2 separate regions of the Homo sapiens genome follow, and region 2 is linked to region 1. The links are contacts of gene promoters, found by promoter capture Hi-C in blood cells and fetal thymus (Javierre and others, 2016). All regions are on one chromosome and are shown on one strand. The core of a region is centred on a gene start or on the middle of the fragment in contact, and the rest is flanking DNA. Distances in the headings are between cores, read along the strand shown.

The links. The method cuts DNA at HindIII sites, captures the fragments that hold promoters and counts their contacts. A CHiCAGO score of 5 or more calls a contact.
Region 2: a contact is called between a fragment that was not itself captured here and the fragment with the promoter of EEA1 in region 1, in 1 of 17 cell types (fetal thymus). The highest score is 7.0, in fetal thymus.

Annotation. Positions count from the first base shown.
Region 1 is chr12:92,927,950-92,930,649 of GRCh38, reverse strand. EEA1 (early endosome antigen 1) reads left to right here and starts at 1,355. Exons shown (of 29, transcript NM_003566.4): 1 at 1,355-1,607. The coding sequence starts at 1,584. RefSeq lists a silencer at 886-1,965. The HindIII fragment of the contact is 15,624 bases long and covers 1-2,292 here.
Region 2 is chr12:91,378,033-91,380,812 of GRCh38, reverse strand. The region is part of intron 4 of LOC105369896 (a long non-coding RNA gene); the gene reads left to right. Among named protein-coding and RNA genes, the nearest start is that of LINC02823, 52 kb to the right of the region's middle. The HindIII fragment of the contact is 2,179 bases long and covers 233-2,411 here.

The sequences.
Region 1 (2,700 bases), core at 106-2,605:
TGATTACTCATATATTAGCTGTAGGCATGACCGTGCTGCTGCACCATCGAGAGACACACACACACATAATAAAAAACCAAATATATTTGGGATAGAAATATCATATTACATTATATAATGCATTATACTTTACAAAACATTTTCCTATTCATTAACTGATTTGCAAATAATATTTAATTTTGTGCTGCTTTTCAAAAGATCTGGAAGTGCTTTCCAAAAAGCACTCCATTCATTGCTTCATAGGCTTCATTCAGTGGTCTGTTGGTTTTTTCTTTTTTTTTTTTTTTCCCTCCCAGCAAGGTTAGTTCCATTATTCCCTCTCCTTCCCTATTCAAGCAATATTAAAGGCTTCTCTTTTTCTACCAGGGTGTTAAGTTGAGCCTCTTGGCTGTGAATATTGGCAGAATGGTAGGACGCAGAAGCTGTGATTTCTCGAGTTAAATAATGACATCGTGCCTGGAGGTCAGTTCAAAGACCACGTCGTTTTGGCACGATATTTATCTGTGACCTCATTTTCTTCTTAATCTATAAAACAGAGGCGTTAATGACAATTTACTTCATAAATCGATTATCAGAATAGGACTTAAAATTCCTTAGGAGGTCAAGCACGGGCTTTAGAAAGTGCAACATGTGAACATCAGCCTATTAAAAATTGTTTTGATCTAGAAAAGACAACCTCAAACTTCTCTTGCCAATTCAAATTCCAGCTTCTTCCTACCCTTCTTTTCTAAATCTTTGCTTTCTCTTTGGCTGAAATTAGAAGCAGGAAGGGAGCAGGGAAAGGAAACCTGGGACTGGAAAAGGGCAGGGAAGCCCAACAGACCGGTTAAGCACGTCTGAGATTCTCTAGTCGGCTTCAACCCAGGGGCTAAGAGGCAGAGTCAGCGTTTCCAGCAGAAACTAGCATATAGCTCAGGCTCAATACCACGTCGAGTCAGGAGCCATCGCCGGAAGGGTCACACCGACACATTTTACAAAACAGCCTAAGGCGTCCCCTCCTCCCGCCTGGGTCAGGGAGGGACACCCCCAGGGGTCCTCGCCCGCCTCCCACTAGCGGGCACGCGGTCGTCGCGCGGGCGCGGCCCTCTGACGGAGCCCAGGCGTGCACTCCGCAGCCTCGGCGTCCCCCAGCTAGCCGGAAGAAGCTGCGGCGACAGCGTCCTGCCGCCTGTCTGTCACGCAGCCGCCCACGTTGCCACCGCTTCCGATTGGTCGCTGGCCTGGACCGGCCCCCTTCAGCCCCGCCTCCCGCGAATGGACAGGCGAGGGGCGGGCCCGCCACCGCCCCGCCCCCCGGCGGCCGCGGGCGGGCCCGCCCATCTGTCAGTTACGGGGGCTGCCCGGCGGGCGGGCTGGAGGCGCTCGCAGGCTGCCTAGTCGTTCGCTCGCTCTCTCTCGCGTGCTCCCTCTCGCCGCCTGTGGGGAAGTCGGGGCCGCCCGAGCGGCCGTCGCCACCGCCTCGCCCCGACCTCCTTCCCGGTCCCCTCCCGGCCCAGTCCCTCCCGCCCGCGCACCCCGAGTAGTGAGTGGCCCCGCGCAGGGTCTGGAGAGTCACCGCGGCGGCGCCGGGTGGTGGTTAAACCATGTTAAGGAGGATTTTACAGAGGGTAAGAGAGTGAAACCGTCTTTCTGGCAGCACGTGAGCGGGACAGCCGGAGCTCGGGGCCGCGGCGCGGGCGCCCCTCCTCAGCGCGGGCTCCTTCCTTCCCTAGGCCCCACAGCCCGGCAGGCGCTTAGGCCTCGGTCGCCCGGCCCGGGGGCGGGGAGGGCGGGTGGGGCCGGCGCGGCGGGGCGGCAGGCAGAGCCCTGGTGGCCCCGCGCGTCCAGGCCTGGCGCCCGCTCCGGCGCGGGGCTCCGTGTGTGCGAGCGGGCTGCGAGCTGGAGGGTGTGGTGCCGGCGCGTTCCTCCCGGGAACCCTGAGTGGGAGTGAAAATGGAGAGTTGGTGCCCGTGGGACGGGCCAGCCGCCGCCTGCCGGGCTGGAGAACGCCCCATGGGAGATTCGGGCGGCTTGCTTCGCCTTTCCCCACCCGCCGCACTCCCCGTGCCCCCCAATTTGACACGATGCGCACCTGCCACACACGGCCCTGCTTTCTCCTTTGGACCACAGTGGAGGGTGGTGTGGTGAGCCCCGGCCTAGCCTGGGCCCAGGCGTGGGACTGACACTGGCACAGTCAGCCGAGAAGGAAGATGTTACTCACTGTTGGAAACTTTTTTTTTAATTAAAAATATGTTTTCTGTGCAAGCCCCACTACCTTATTTTAGCTATCCAAGAATAAATCCGCAGTAAGCTTGATCAAGTGGTATATACACTTAGTTTCTGCCTGTGCTGTCTCTGAAATCTGGAAAACCTTGAGGATAGAAAGATTAGAGCATTAGAAAACTGTAGGTGTATCATTTAAGAATCAGTTACTAGAATAACATAATTCACATCTCTTTTCCTGTAAGAGTTATTGTACCTGTCAACTTAAATTTGTTTTTTTTTTTTGGTATAGCTTTTTTCTTTTCTTTTTGAGGCTGATAGGGTGTAACAAAATGTAAATGATTGAAAAGTAGGTGCCGAGCCTATTAGTTCTTTACCGAGGGAGTAGGATAACTAGTTCAAAGGACAAAAGAAATTAGTGAATTTGTAGGATTCAGCCGAGGAATGTGCGGAAGAGAGTTGAGTCATCCAGTAGATAGGAAGGGAGTGCTCTTGCTT
Region 2 (2,780 bases), core at 73-2,572, 1.5 Mb after region 1:
TTGCCAAACGGGAAAAGCCAGGCTCTTAAACTTTGATTTTCCCTCAGCAGTCTATTCAACTGGGCTTATATAAGGAGGAGACAAGCTGAACCCAAATTTTACAACACAAAGCAATTTTTATTGGCAGCAAGGGAGACCCCTTCCTGAAAAAGAAAGAAAAAACCCAAATCTATGTCTAATTCTTAAAATATGTTTCAGGTTGTAGATTTTAGCAATATTTATTATTCAAGCTTGGGAATATGACCTCATTTGCCATGGTTGTTTGCTTATTTTAAGAAAAATGCCTTTCTACTTCTTGTTGCAAGCCATCAGGCAACCATTTAAACATGCAAGCAAAAAGTCTGGATCATGGGCATATTTAAAAATCTGGAAGACTTCAATAAGTTGTAAAGATTTACGATTCCATCGTGGGCTTGCAGAAGGGGTTTGCTGTGGCCTTCTGTGAGCAAGGGCGGCCTAGTATATGGTGGGCATAGGCCAAAGAACTTACCAAAAATTCTACCAGAGTGAAGGGAGCACAAATAGTTTTGGGGGAAAACTTTCCTTGTCTTAAGCAATACCGTATACAGTGTTTAGAAGGAATGTCACCTAGGTTTCAGAAGGTGAATTTGAAAGGCTGAAATAAAGTACTTTAGAAAGAGGTATCTTTTTCTTTCCAACATCAATTTGATGCACACAGGGACAGATTTTGAGAAGCTCTGTAATTGCTCCCAGGAGTTGAGTTAGGTTGAGGTAGTCAACCAGCTGCTAACAATTTAGTTTAATATGCAGTCTTAGTAAATTAAAGGAATCTGATAAATTGAGACCCAGCATGATTCTTATTTGTTTGCTATGGCATAACATGTTGAACGCCAGCAGAAATTAACCCATTGAAATTTTTCTACTCAAGGCCCCCATTTTATTTTCTCACTTTCCTGTGTCAGATGTTTTTGCTCCAGACTTGGTCATCTGAGCAATTCCTTAGTTTTATGCTTATCTACTTAAAAAATATATATATAACAATAATACAAATTCTAGAATCATGCTTATTTTCAGTTTTCTCTCTGTGTTTGTATTTAAACTCCTTGAAGGTAAAAATAAATAAATAAATGAGTCTGTTACTCCTCTTGTGTGTTAACCTTTCTACTTCACATGTAGATCATCTTAAACATGCTTGATGTAGATTTTGTTTTCTGTGGGAGCTGAGACACTTGTGGGAGGAGAAATGTGCAATTTTGTACTTGGCTACATCCCCAGAGGAGTGGTGACCAGAAAAGGGAAAGACAGCTTGCCAGATACCTAAAGGATAAATGAGATATTGAGCTACTGGAAACACCAAAATTTACCATTGATTCTTTCTACACACTAAACTGTTACTTGTGATAGTAGTTGTAAAAAACTGCATGTTTATTAACCGAAAGGTGATTGTTCTAACATTCACTGGGAAAGAGTGAAATGGTTGGAATAACACTTTAGCACTCATACCTAAAGATTTGCAAAGCCAAAATGCCAGGCAAAATTAAAACAGGCTAAATTCATATGTACAAAAGAGCTGTAATTCTTTTATGATGAAATAGATATTTTCTTAGAAGCAACAGTTTCCTGTGTTCTGTAAAGTAAGCCAAGTCAGTAATGGGTAACTCTGGCATCTCCTGCTCTCCTCTCACCTCATGGATGCCAGGCTTTCGAGTTGTATTTCAATTCTCCCTTACATTGTGGCCTCTTTGCCTCACTCCCAAATTCCTCATACCTCTTCCAAACTTGCAGTTAGGAGTGAATATAGGATCCTCCTCCTCCTCCTCTTTCTCTCTCTGTCTTTAGATTAAACTGAAAACATGGCAGCTTTTTCCAAAATTATTCATTCTTTGTCAGGTGTGTGTGTATGTGTCTTATTGTGCCATTGAAAATAAGAATGTGGAGGGTGCCTTACTATGCCATAGAACAATTTATTGTGTTTCTGGGTTGCCATCTTTTCAATCTGATTAATTTATGGTCCCATAGAGAATCTCTGGTGTGAATTATGTTAGCTTTGTTGAGTCCACTGTGCAGAAAGTCAGTTTGTATCAATATTCTTCTAGGCTTAACAGTTTCTCCTTAAAAGGCTTAATAATTGCCTGTCATTTGTCTCTTGGCCCATTTTTATCTTGGAAATGATTGGCTGTTAGGCAGACCATTTGTGTAATATTACTATAAAAGCCTTAAAACATGGGAAGAAAATTAGAATCATATGTGTATATACTAGGTTAGTAATGAATAAAGTGCTTTTCTACAAAATTTTGAGGACCTTTTAGGAAATCAAAATCTTTAATGACATGAGGATATCCCAAGTCAGAATAAGGGGAAGTTTGAGGGAAAATATTTAAATTAGAGGGTAACTTTGTGCAAGGACAAGTGATATTTGTAATTTTTAGTGTACAGGCTACCATGAAGCTTACAAATGAAAACAACAGCAACAATTTAAAACCAAACCATCTAAGTCAAATTTTATCTAAAATGAGGTAAATGCTATGACAAAAATGAAAATTTTATTGCAATTCAAGATCAAGTAGATGTCATTATGGTTTTTCAAATTATGAAATAAATAAGGAAGGAAAATGTGGCTAAACCTACAAAGAACTATGAAGATTAAAAATGGAACGTGGAATTTGTACTGTCTTAATTCCTCTGGCTTTTATAAACAAATAAAAGTAATATTGTATACTGCTAATAGCCACTCTAAAATATATTCCCCAAATGAGAAAATAATTGTATTTACATTATATTATAAGAATAAACTTAATTATGTTTTCAAAAGGAAATAC